Linked DNA regions of Homo sapiens: all the other regions are linked to region 2. Evidence: promoter capture Hi-C in 16 types of primary human blood cells and fetal thymus (Javierre and others, 2016). All regions are on one chromosome and are shown on one strand. Each heading gives the region's core, a stretch centred on a gene start or on the middle of the fragment in contact. The rest is flanking DNA. Distances are from core to core; before and after follow the strand shown. Region 1 overlaps PPL (periplakin). Region 2 holds the start of C16orf89 (chromosome 16 open reading frame 89). Region 3 overlaps GLYR1 (glyoxylate reductase 1 homolog).

What was found. The method cuts DNA at HindIII sites, captures the fragments that hold promoters and counts their contacts. A CHiCAGO score of 5 or more calls a contact.
Region 1: a fragment that was not itself captured here is called in contact with the fragment with the promoter of C16orf89 in region 2 in 2 of 17 cell types (M2 macrophages and naive CD8 T cells); the score reaches 5.3 in M2 macrophages.
Region 3: a contact is called between a fragment that was not itself captured here and the fragment with the promoter of C16orf89 in region 2, in 1 of 17 cell types (M2 macrophages). The highest score is 5.4, in M2 macrophages.

What each region holds. Positions count from the first base shown.
Region 1 is chr16:4,910,690-4,915,002 of GRCh38, reverse strand. It overlaps PPL (periplakin), which reads left to right. Exons shown (of 22, transcript NM_002705.5): 2 at 4,054-4,153. LOC124903637 (a long non-coding RNA gene) reads right to left here. Exons shown (of 3, transcript XR_007064965.1): 2 at 2,472-2,552; 3 at 555-642. Among named protein-coding and RNA genes, the nearest start is that of PPL, 24 kb to the left of the region's middle. The HindIII fragment of the contact is 174 bases long and covers 2,481-2,654 here.
Region 2 is chr16:5,062,853-5,067,417 of GRCh38, reverse strand. C16orf89 (chromosome 16 open reading frame 89) reads left to right here and starts at 1,462. Exons shown (of 8, transcript NM_001098514.3): 1 at 1,462-1,717. The coding sequence starts at 1,510. The HindIII fragment of the contact is 15,659 bases long and covers 1-4,565 here.
Region 3 is chr16:4,816,274-4,820,575 of GRCh38, reverse strand. It overlaps GLYR1 (glyoxylate reductase 1 homolog), which reads left to right. Exons shown (of 16, transcript NM_032569.4): 10 at 2,879-2,978. Among named protein-coding and RNA genes, the nearest start is that of ROGDI, 16 kb to the right of the region's middle. The HindIII fragment of the contact is 2,515 bases long and covers 578-3,092 here.

The sequences.
Region 1 (4,313 bases), core at 1,318-3,817, 150 kb after region 2:
AGGGGTTAAATATTTGGGGTGAGACTCACCGCCTCTAGGTGCAGCTGGCCTGGCAGATGGTCAGTGACTGGGGTGGGAGTGTGGGGGCCCAGAAACTCACATTCTCCATGTGGCCTGCCCAACCAGGAAGTGGGGGGTTAGGGAATGAGGGAGGAGTCGGGTGGACCCCTGACCTGGCTGTTCTAGAAGCCCACCTTATCCCTTCTTACCGAGATCCTCCATCCAAAGCCCCCCACTGCTAAGCCTTCCTGGCCACCCCGCCAAACACTGGCTTTCTCCACTGCAGGACTTGTCAGTGCCTTTGCTGGCTCATGAACATATCAAGGATGGGGTTTTCCTAAGTGCCTTGACCAAGGAAGAATAAGACTTGTAAGAGTTGGGTTCCTGGGACCCCACTTTGGGACAGGCTGCCCCCAGTTGACCTTGCAGAAGGTATGGCTTGGGTCCTGTTCCCTCAAGATCCCCCAGCTCCGGTGTATCCAGGTCTGCCACAAAGCTGGCCCTTAAGCAAGGTGTGGAACCTAGACGGATGGATCCCCAGCATGTTGGCTGCTGCCATTTCTGCCCCCAATGCCCCCAACATCAACAGCACCTGCATTGCTGGTCCATGACTCCGGTAGGTGTCCAGGTACCCTGGGGAACCTGCAAAAATAGTAATAATAATACAGCTTCCTGGGCCCAGCTCTGGAGACCTGGGTTCAGCAGGTCTGGGTTAGTGGCCGGGAATCTGAATTTTTCATGCTAGGCCCCAGAACCTTGATCTGGGGAGCATCACTCGAAAGGGCTGGTGGTCCCCTCTGCCTTGACGGTCAAGAACCCCGCCCTGGCCCACCCCACGGGACGTGCCAGGACCTGCCTCTCTCTATGGCGTGTCCTCATTGGAGCCTTCTGCACAGGAACACCAAATTCTTCCTTTTGCTTTAGCACCCAGCCGACACCACCTCCTCCAGGAAGCCTTCAGTGACCACCGCTGTCCCCACCCAGCCAGTCCAGAGGTTCCCCTGGGCATCCCCAGCCTCCAGGCCTGCCTCAGTCTCGTGACTGTTTCTATAAATACTGATTTCCTCCTGGTCTGTGGGGTGGATCAGGGAGGGAGAGGCTTGTCTTTGTGAGGTGCAGGGCCCGCACACAGCAGGTGCTTAATGAGTGTGAGTAGAAGGCAACTTCTGCGTGCCTAGCCACTCAGGCCCCACTGTGGGTCTTCAGTGGAGACAGGGGAGCTATCATCGCTGGCTAACTGGGTGACAATGGCCAAGTTGGTTTCCCTTTCTTTCTTTGTTTAAAGAAAACAACAGAAGGAGGCTGGGCATGGTGGCTCACACCTGTAATCCCAGCTACTCAAAAGGCTGAGGCAGCCGAATCACTTGACCCCAAGAAGTGGAGGTTGCAGCGAGCCAAGATGATACCACTGCACTTCCAGCCTGGGTGACAGAGTGAGACTCGGTCTCAAAACCACAGAGGCAGAGCTGGGTGATCTCTAAGGCTCCTTGACAACTAAAATCACAAACCTTTGTTCAGACTTATTCTGTGCCCGGCTCTATGCACAGTCCTTTGGTAGTGTAACCTCACTTCCATTCATAACCCCTGCCACCCTGGCCCCGGGAAAGGACTGTTACTCTAGTCCATCGGATTGGGAGACAGAGGCACAGATAGGCAAGGGAGCTGGGCCAAGTCACACAGCCACTAAGTGGCTGATGGGAGCCAAGATCTGAACCCACAGCTAACCCCAGGGCCAAAGTCTTAACTAACTCCCATTAGAGCATTTTCCAGAGTGGTCTGTCTGTGGTTCTGGGGGACGGGGGGCAGTAGACAAATGTGACAGGAGGGGACACAGAGACAGTGAGGGAGAGGGCCAGTCTGCTTTCAAGACTTTTTTTTCTTTTCTTGTTTTTTTTTTTCGAGATGGAGTCTCGCTCTGTTACCCAGGCTGGAGTGCAGTGGTGCAATCTCAGCTCACTGCCACCTCCACCTCCCAGGTTCAAGCAGTTCTCCTGCCTCAGCCTCCCGAGTAGCTGGGACTACAGGCGCATGCCACCACACCTAGCTAATTTTTGTATTTTTAGTAGAGATGGGGTTTCACCATGTTGGCCAGGCTGGTCTCAAACTCCTGATCTCAGGTGATTCGCCCGCCTTGGCCTCCCAAAGTGCTGGGATTACAGGTATGAGCCACCACACCGGGCCTCAAGTCTCTTTCAGGCGCTCTGAGAAGATCAGGAGAAAGGCTGGGCCTGACGCCACCACGGCTGTCACACCTCCTGACTTGTAACAGCGGGCAGCCCAGTGTCACCACGGAACCCAGTGCCACTGCGTTCCCATGAAATTTATTTTGGCAGCTAATTCACTCATGGTGAGGGCTTCTGATTTCTGATTAAAATGGGGAGAGAAGTTACCTTTGTAAACACATTTAACTCTAAAATAAAACGAGTAGGTTGAAAGAAAAATATCAGGTAATTAAAAATAAGACTGCTCACACAAAAGCTTGTTCCCGAACGTTCATAGCAGCGTGATTCTCACGATGGCCCAAAGGTGGAAACGGCCCAGATGGTTGTCAGCTGTTGAATGAATAAGCAAAATGTGAAGTAGCCACGTGATGGAATATTATTCAGCCATAAAAAGAATGAAGTTCTAATAGATGCTGCAATATGCACAAAGCTTGAAAACATTATGCTGAGAGAAGGCAGACGCAAAAGGCCACGTGTTGTGTGATTCTATTTATATGAAATGTCCAGAATAGGCAAATCCATAGAGAGAAAAAGTAAATTCCTGGTTGCCAGGGGCTGGAGCGGGTGGGGAATAGGGAGTGACAGCTTGTGGGTGTGGAGCTTTGGGGTGATAAAAATGTCTGGAATGAGATAGTGGTGATGGTTGCACGATTCTGAATGTGTAGTACTAAAAGCCAGTGACTGTGTATTTTAAACAGGTGAATTTTACGGTATGTGAGTTATCTCCCAATTTTTCAAATATGGTGCGTTTTGCCAACATGGCAAAATAGAAGCATTAGAAGCTGGGTGTGCTGGTGGTGCCAGTGGTCCCAGCTACTCAGGAGGTGGAGGTAGGAGGATTGCTTGAGCTCAGGAGTTCGAGGCTATAGTGAACTATGATCACGCCACTGCACTCCAGTCTGGGTGACAGAGTGAGACCCTATCTCTCACAAAAAAATATGTAGTCGGGGCCTGGTGGCTGACATCTGTAATCCCAGCACTTTGGGAGTCCAAGGTGGACGAATTGCTTGAGCTCAGGAGTTCGAGACCAGCCTGGGTGACATGGTGAAACCCCTTCTCTACCAAAAGAAATGTAAAAGTTATGCAGGAGTGGTGGCATGTGCCTGTAGTCCCAGCTACTTGGGAGGCTGGGCTAGGAGGATTGCTTGAGCCTGGGAGATAGAGGCTGCAGTGAGCCATGACTGTGCCGCTACACCCCAGCCTGGGCAAGAGTGTGAGACTCCGTCTCAATAAAATGAATGAATGAATGAATGAATGAACGAATGAATGAATAAAAATAAAAAATAGAAGCATTAGAGAGAATGATCAAAGTGGAGGCTGGGCGGGCGCGGTGGCTCACGCCTGTAATCCCAGCACTTTGGGAGGCCAAGATAGGTGGATCACTTGAGGTCAGGAGTTCAAGACCAGCCTGGCCAACATGGTGGAACCCCATCTCCACTAAAAATACAAAAATTAGCCAGGCTTGGTGGTGCATGCTTGTAATCTCAGCTACTGGGGAGGCTGAGGCATGAGAATCATTTGAACCCAGGAAGTGGAGGTTGCAGTAAGCTGAGATCACGCCACTGCACTTTAGCCTGGGTGACAGAGCAAGACTCCATCTCAAAAAAAAAAAAAAAAAAAAAAAGGAGGCTGACCGCCTGCCAGGCGCTGCCTTGTCTCTGTGGCTTTAGTGATGTTGCCCTATGGGAACAGCCCAACTACCTCAAAGGCTCTGTGGGCAGCTCCTGCTCAGAGCGTGGGGCCGGGGCCAGCCAGAGGATGGGGTGCTGGTGGGGACATAGCCCCCACCCACCAGGCACCCCGCCCATCTCCCCTCGGCTTCTGCCCGCAGCATCTCTAACAAGGAGCTCTCGGAGCTGATCGAGCAGCTGCAGAAGAATGCCGACCAGGTGGAGAAGAACATCGTGGACACAGAGGCCAAGATGCAGAGTGTGAGTGCCCCCACTCCCACTCCCACCTGGGTGCCCCGTGCTGCCAGCCCTGTTCAGGACCAGGATCTGTTTGGAATCGGTGATTCTCACCCAGGGGTGATTGTGGCCCCGAGGGAACATGCAGAGACATTTTGGTTGTCACTGCTTGGAAGGAAGGTCC
Region 2 (4,565 bases), core at 213-2,712:
CATGAATGGATTCATGCTGTTATTGCAAAAGCGTGTACCTGATAAAGGAATGAGTTTAGCTTCTTTCTCTTCTCTCTCTCCAGCTCTCGTGCCCTTCTGCCCTCCACCGTGGGATGATATAGCAAGAAGACCCCCACCAGATGCAACCCCTTGAACCTGGACTTCCCAGCCTCCAGAACTATGAGCCAAATGAATTTCTTTTCTTTATAAATTACTCAGTCTCAGGTATTCTGTTGTAGTAGCACAAAACTAAGACACTGCCCAGTATACCAGCTACATGTGACTATCAAGCCCCTGAAATATGGATAGTCTGAATTGAAATGTGCTTAGCCTGGCATGGTGGCTTACATCTGGAGTGCCAGCTCCTTGGGAGGCTAAAGCGCGAGGGTCCCTTGAGCCTAGGAGCTCGAGACTGCAGTGAACTATGACCACATCACTGCACTCCAGCCTGGGCAACAGAATGAGACCCTGTCTCTTAAAAATAAAATAACAAAATAAAACAATTGTGTTGTGAACATAAACTACTCATCAATTTCAAAGACTTAGTATGACAAAAATAAAAACAAATCATTTCTATATTGATTACAGATGTAATTATAATATTTTAAATAACTGGGTCAAATAAACTAGATCGTTAAAATTAACTTCACCTGCTTATTGCTGCTTTCTTAGATGTGGCTACTAGGAAATTTCGAAATGCACACATGGCTCATCTTTGTAGCTCCAATTCTATTTCAATTGGACGGTGCCCCTTTAAGGAAGTTTGCCTCAGTTCAAGGCAGACGTGCCCTCAAATGAGTTTGTTTCAAATTTATTTAAAACAAAGCCTGGGTGTGGTGGCTCCAGCCTGTAATCCCAGCACTTTGGGAGCCCAAAGAAGGTGGCTCGCTTGAGGCCAGCGGTTCAAGACCAGCCTGATCAACATAGTGAGACCCTGTCTCTATTAAAAAAAGCTACAAAAATTAGGCAACATGGTGGCACATGCCGATTGTCCCAGCTATTCAGGAGGCTGAGGCAAGAGGATCTATTGAGCCCAGGAGGTCAAGGCTACAGTGAGCTGTGATCAAACCACTGCACTCCAGCCTAGGCAAGAGAATGAGACCCTATTTCAAAAAACAAAGAAAAAAAAATTCGTTTTGCTTTCAGAGCTTTTGGATTTCTGGGTTGAATTGCAATTGCTAGATCAAAGATCTAGCCTGTGAGCCTGGAGAATCAGGGCTGAGAAGGACAGGGCGGGCAGCCCTCTCCCCAGCATCCCGTGGACAGCAGGCTCTACGCCCAGGACTGGCCTAACCTCCGCTGCCTAACCGTCATCCCCCTGCAGCCACCCTTCCCAGAGTCCTTTGCCCAGGCCACCCCAGGCTTCTTGGCAGCCCTGCCGGGCCACTTGTCTTCATGTCTGCCAGGGGGAGGTGGGAAGGAGGTGGGAGGAGGGCGTGCAGAGGCAGTCTGGGCTTGGCCAGAGCTCAGGGTGCTGAGCGTGTGACCAGCAGTGAGCAGAGGCCGGCCATGGCCAGCCTGGGGCTGCTGCTCCTGCTCTTACTGACAGCACTGCCACCGCTGTGGTCCTCCTCACTGCCTGGGCTGGACACTGCTGAAAGTAAAGCCACCATTGCAGACCTGATCCTGTCTGCGCTGGAGAGAGCCACCGTCTTCCTAGAACAGAGGCTGCCTGAAATCAACCTGGATGGCATGGTGGGGGTCCGAGTGCTGGAAGGTGAGTGAGCCCCAATTCCTCTGGCTGGACACTGGGAAGCTAGCTCTCAGCTTTGTCCCCTGCCCTGCTCTGTACGCCTGGGACCTGGCAGACTCCTGGCCCCAGTATAGCCTGCCTCGGCTATAAGGAGAGAGGAGGCCAGGGGCTGGATCTTCCTGGCGGCTGTGGCCCAGCTAACTGTTACGCAATTTTTTAGAAGTAGGAAAGATTTAAAGGCAACATGGGAAGGGATTTGGGAATTATCTTTTTCTCAGAATGAAATGATCCATTTGACAGCCCCTCCTCACAACGCCACGAACAAGGGGAGCAGGGAGAGTGCCCCGTTAACAGATATTTGTGGGAAGACCCCTCCCCTTGAATGAGGTGGCTGTGGACAAAACTGAGGACCCTCAAGATCGGGTTCCCACCCCACTTCCTCCACTTGCAGCCAAAGTCTCCTGAAGGTTCTGCAAAAACAGTCAAGTGTTTGTTTAGCTTTGAGAGCTATAAGATCCCCAAGAAGGGGGCTGGAGACAGGCCAAGGTAAACACACACATGCGCACATCATGCACACACACACAAGCACACATGCACGCACGCACACACACATGCACATCACACACACAAGCACGCATGCACGCATGCACACAAGCATATCACACACACACACAAGCACACAGGTGGCTCCCACAGGGCTGGGTGCTTCCTGGGGCGCATGTGATAGCAAAAGCTGTAGTTCACTAAGTATCTGCTCAATGTGGGCACAACCCAGGTGCATTGCATGGGGTACTTCAGTGCCCTCTCCCCGTCATCCCTGAGGTTACACCCATTATTATTATCCTCTTTTAGCAAAGAAGGGAGGGGGTTCTCTTAATCATGACTGGGCAGCATTCACTGGGAAAGCGGCCCCACCTAACAGCCTCAGACCAGGGTCCCCACTCCTTGGCAGCTGCAGTGAGCCCGGCTTCTCCACCCACGCCACATCCCACATCCACTGCCCCTTCTCCTCTCAATAATCTTGCTCCATAACAGATTCCCTAGGAATTCAGTGCTTAATACAACCACACCCGTGAACTGTGCCCAGAAGGGAGCAAAGGCAGTGCCAGTGCCTAGAACAGAGCTTCAGAACTGGACTGCCCAGGTTCAAATCCTGGATCTCCCCCAACTGGCTGCATGGCACTGAGTTAACTGCTCTCGTGGAGTTTTGGTTTCCTCATCCTTCAGCTGCAGCTGGTGGATGGGAGTATCACACGATCATGCACATGTGTCTCATGAGATTGTGTGTATATGTCATCTTACCAGTGGGGCTCAGTACTTGTCAGCCATTACTGTTTCCATCTATCAAAGCATTGAGCATCCTTGACTAGCAGCAACGGCTTCCTCACCTGTGTCTCTCTAAACAATGAGCTCCCAGTGGGCAGGGTCTACGTCCCATTGCAGTGGTCCCCAACCTTTTTGACACCAGGGACTGGTTTTGTGGAAAGCAATTTTTCCATGGACTGAGGTGGAGGGGAGGGTTTCAGGACAATTCACGTGCATTAAATTTATTGTGCACTTTATTTTTTATTTATTATTATTATTATATTATTATTATTTTGAGACGGAGTCTCGCTCTGTCGCCCAGGCTGCAGTGCAGTGGTGCCACCTCAGCTCACTGCAACCTCCACCTCCAGGTTCAAGCGATTCTCCTGCTCAGCCTCCCAAATAGCTGGGACTACAGGTACCCACCACCACGCCCGGCTAATTTTTGTATTTTTGGTAGAGATGAGGTTTTACCATGTTGGCCATGCTGGTCTTGAACTCCTGGACTTAAGTAATCCACCTGCCTCGGCCTCGCAAAGTGCTGGGATTACAGGCGTGAGCCACCGTGCCCAGCCCACTTTCTGTTTATTGTTATTATGTTATAATATATAATTATACAACTCGCCACAATGTAGAATCAGTTGAAGCCCTGAGACTGTTTTCCTGCAAGTAGATAATCCCGTCTGGGGGTGATAGGAGACGGTCTCAGATCATCGGGCATTAGATCCTCATAAGGTGTGTGCAGCCTAGATCCCTCGTATGTGCAATTCACAACAGGGTTCACACTCCTGTGAGAATCGAATGCAGCCACTGATCTGACAGCAGGCGGAGCTCAGGCGGTAGTGACAGCGAATGATGGGGAGTGGCTGTAAATTACAGATGCAGCTTAGCTCGCTCACCCACCACTCACCTCCTGCTGTGCGGCCCCATTCCTAACAGGCCATAGACCAGTAATGGACTGGAGGTTGGGGACCCCTGTCCTATTGGACTTTGTAGACCCGGTGCAATCACAGGAGGAGACACTCTGACACACAGGGAGCCCCTCCCTGTCAGCACTCCCAAGCCTTTACTTCTTCCCTGCGGGTTTGCCCATGGAGGGGGCTGAGCAGAGGGGGCGTGCCAGAGCCGGTCGCCCTGGAGGACTACCTCAGCATCCTTCTTAACCTAGCCCATCCTCCCTAACAAGGTTCCTACCTGACTGCAGCTGCCCCACTTCATCCCTCGCCCTCTCAGCCCTGCGTGAATGCTCTCACTCGGATGTTCTCACTCATGTCTCCCCAATTTCTGGCCACCTCTGGATCTTCACCATTGTCTCCCACCTCAACAAAGCCACTGCTAGCCCACAGGGTACCTCTGTGGGAATTAGAAAAAGGCACTTCCTTCCTGAAGTCACTTGACAGCCATCTGCTGGGAAATTGTCTTACTGCATATACAAACCCATGATCCAAATGTGTGTTGCCCTTGTGCAGTGTACAACCTGCTCAACTGTACACAGTGGTTCTCTACCCTGCAACCTTTCTCTGGCCATCCAACAAGAAAGTATATGAGTCAAGGATTTGAGGATTTG
Region 3 (4,302 bases), core at 586-3,085, 250 kb after region 2:
TAGAGTGGAGGAGATAAGGGCATATTAGGTGCAAACAAAGGGGAGGAGGATTGTGTTAAAAAAATAAAAATAAAAAAATGATCAGGATAGGGTGAGGACAGAGTCCTGATGTTTTTACCCAACACATTTATTGGCCCATTAGTCAAACTTTTAATAAAAGAGTATGAAGCCAGCATCAAAACCAACCAGTTTTGTTGTTGCCCAACCCACCTTAATCCACATTTCCATTTTGTCTGAGACACAGTGTGAAGGACTCTCAGTTGCCATATTAAAAATCCAGAACCTTGACCTGGGCATGGTGGCTCATGGCTGTTATCCCAGCACTTTGGGAGGCCAAGGTGGGCGGATTACCTGAGGTCAGGAGTTCAAGACCAGCCTGGCCAACATGGTGAAACCCTGTCTCTACAAAAATTAGCCAGGCATGATGGTGGGTGCCTTTAATCCCAGCTACTTGGGAGGCTGAGGTGGGAGAATCGCTTGAACCCGGGAGGTGGAGGTTGCAGTGAGCCAAGATCGCACCACTGCACTCCAGCCTGGGCAACAGAACGAGACTGTGTCTCAAAAAAATCCAGAAGCTTTATCCCAGGTCTACTGGACTTCCTAGAACACCAAGAAAGGAAAGGGAATTCGCCTGTCATGATTTAGAATCATGGGGGAATATTGTACTACCCAAATAATGAGTGACAAAAAGGTACCTCCTTGTTTTTAAGCCACAACTTGAAGCAGTTAGCAAGGAGGTCTATTTTGGTGAGAAAGTTGGTGGGTTCCATTTTCAACATGTGATTCAAATTACTTAATACAGGCTGGGACAGGGAGAATGTGAGCAGCTGATATTCCAGCTGAGATTAGGGGTCCATTTGTAGAGATGGTTCCAGAAGACCAAAACTATGGAAAGAATGACAGGGTCAAAGTGGAGGAGCTGCCGGGGACATCCAGCAGTCAGAGAATTTCTGAATTGAAAACATGGCCAAGCGCAGTAGCTCATCCTTGTAATCCCCACACTTTGGGAGACCAAAGCAGAAGGATCCCTTGAGGCCAGGAGTTCATGACCAGCCTAGGAAATACAGCAAGACCCCGTCTCTACAAAAAAATTTTAAAACTTAGCCAGACATGGTGGCATGCACCTATAGTCCTAGCTGCTCAGGTGGACTGAGGTGGAAGGATCACTTGAGCCCAGGAGTTTGAGGCTGCGGTGAGCTATGATCACCCCCCTGCACTCCAGCCTGGGAGACAGCATAATGCTGTCACTAAAAAAAGAAAAAAGGCTGGGTGCAGTGGCTCACGCCCATAATCCTAACACTTTGGGAGGCTGAGGTGAGAGGATTGCCTGATACCAAAAGTTCGAGACCAGCCTAGCCAACATAGCAAGACCCCCCCATCTCTCTTTTTAAATAAATAAATAAATAAAAATTAAAAACTATAAAAACAAGAACATGATATGATCAGAAATGAGGAAAGGCATTCTTTTGCACCATTGTCACTTGCAAAGAGAGGTGAAGAAGTACAAGAATCAAGAAAAGACACTTTGGCAAGCTAAAAGTCATCCGTAAAAGCATGTTGAAATAGCAGCAGTGGCATCCAGCCCCCAGCTCTCAGGGTTGCAGGAAGGAGCAGGCGGAGTATGTGAATGTGTGTGGAGGAGACTGGCCAATGAGTGCTTCTGTCACAAGGATTGGGAAGGACCTGTGGAAGGAAGGGCTGGGGGAACAGTGAGAGGTTTGGGGGAAGGCAGGCATGGGGAGAAGGATTTGTGGACTGGGAAAGATTGGGTTCCAAGCTCAGGTGAAGGACTTAGCTTTGGAGAGGAGAGGCAAGGCCCATTCTGTTGATAACGGGAAGACGGGAAAGGTAGGGTGTGGGTAGAGAATTGAAGTTGGGAAAGAGAGGTGAAAATTGCCGTCCTGGTTCATGCAGTCAAGGAAGTTGCCTGGCTCTAAACACAGTGCTTCAGTGACTTGTGGTGGATTCTGTTGGGCTTTAAAGTAGTATCCAGAGCCGGGTGCAGTGGTTCACACCTGCAACCCCAGCACTTTGGGAGGCTGAGGTGGGCGGATCCCTTAAGCCCAGGAGTCCAAGACCAGCCTGGGTAACATGGCAAAAGCCCATCTCCACAAAAAATTAGGTGTGCTGACAGATGCCTGTAGTCTCAGCTACCCAGGAGGCTGAGGGGGAAGGATTACTTGAGCCCAGGAGGTCGAGGCTGCAGTGAGCCATGATTGCACCACTACACTGCAGCCTGGGCAACAGAACAAGACACTATCTCAAAAAATAAGTAAAGTGTGAGGCCGGGCATGGTGGCTCACGCCTGTAATCCGAGCACTTTGGGAGGCCGAGGTGGGCAGATCACGAGGTCAGGAGTTTGAGACCAGCCTGGCCAACATGGTGAAACCCTGTCTCTACTAAAAATACAAAAATTAGCTGGGCATGGTGGCGTGCGCCTGTAATCCCAGCTACTCAGAAAGCTGAGGCAGGAGAATCGCTTGAACCCAGGATGCAGAGGTTGCAGTGAGCTGAGCTCGCGCCATTGCACTCCAGCCTGGAACAGAGCAAGACTGTCTCAAAAAAAAAAAAAAGGGCAGCAAGGGGACTTTGCCCTGGGAGACTGGCCCTGAACCATACACATCATACTTTTTTCTGTGACAGTCAGGGGTTTCAAAATGCCTGTTTACATCCTGGGACAGCTTTAGACCATGGCATAAGAGAAGACCCATGTGCATGACGCCCCTGGCTCTGCAGGTAGATTGGCCACTGCTGTTTCTGGCAGTCTGAATTCCCCTACCCCAAGCTGTATAAGGGAGCGAGCCTTGTGCTGCATGGAATCATCATCACCGTGACCCTCCCTTTCCACCCTGAACTCATCAGTCTCTCTCTGTTTCAGGATAGGATTTTTGGGCCTTGGTCTCATGGGAAGTGGAATCGTCTCCAACTTGCTAAAAATGGGTCACACAGTGACTGTCTGGAACCGCACTGCAGAGAAAGTAAGCATTCAGGGGTGGTGCCTGTTGGATCGGTGGAGTCTGGGGTAACCCTAAGAGTGGACATCTCCCCCTGTTGTCTCAGCGTTCTGCGTGCAATAGAATAGAAGCCAAGCTTTTAGTCCAGGCAGGTAGAGATGTAGATGCCTAAACTTAGGATGTTATTATAAAACCTAAACATTTGCCTGGCGCGGTGGCTCACTCCTGTAATCCCAGCACTTTGGGAGGCTGAGGCGGGCGGATCATGAGGTCAGGAGATCGAGACCATCCTGGCTAACACGGTGAAACCCCGTCTCTACTTAAAATACAAAAAATTAGCCGGGCGTGGTGGCGGGCACCTGTAGTCCCAGCTGCTCCAGAGGCTGAGGCAGGAGAATGGCATGAACCCGGGAGGCAGAGCTTGCAGTGAGCCGAGATCGCGCCACTGCACTCCAGCCTGGGCGACAGAGCAAGACTCCGTCTCAAAAAAAAAAAATAGAAAATACAAAAATTAGCTGGGTATGGTGGCGTTCACCTGTAGTCTCAGTTACTCAGGAGGCTGAGGCAGGAGAATAACTTGAATGTGGGAGGCAGAGGTTGCAGTGAGCTGAGATCGTGTCACTGCACTCCAGCCTGGCAACAGAACAAGACTCCGTCTCAAAAAAAAAAAAAAATGGCACAATCTCGGCTCACTGCAACCTCCACCTCCCAGGTTCAAGTGATTCTCCTGCCTCAGACTCCCAAGTAGCTGGGATTACAGGCGCGCGCCACCACACCTGGCTAATTTTTTGTATTTTTAGTAGAGAAGGGGTTTCACCATGTTAGCCAGGCTGGTCTCGAACTTCTGACCTCAGGTGATCCACCCGCCTTGGCCTCCCAAAATACTGGGATTACGGGTGTGAGCCACTGTGCCTGGCCCACAAGTAATTTTTTAAAAGAAAACCAGAAGAAAATAAATACTAACATAGATCTTTGTAAATCTAGAACTAATAAAAATCACACAAGAAGATCAGTTGATTTTTTTTGATAATACTCCCCAACAACAAAAAAATAAAATTCAAAGGAATACCAACTAGAAGTACTTGTAGCAAATACGTAAGAAGGGTAATATGTTGCTTTTATTAAACATAGTTTGATAATTAAGACAAAAAAATTAGTAGGGTGCTAATTAATAATTTTAGATCTAAGAATAGGCTCACACCTATAATCCTAGCACCTTGGGAGGCTGAGGGAAGAGGATTGCTTGAGTCCAGGAATTTGAGACCAGCCTGGACAACATGAGACTCCATCTCTACAAAAAATAAAATATTAGCTGAGTGAGGTGGCACCTGCCTACTATAGTCCCAGC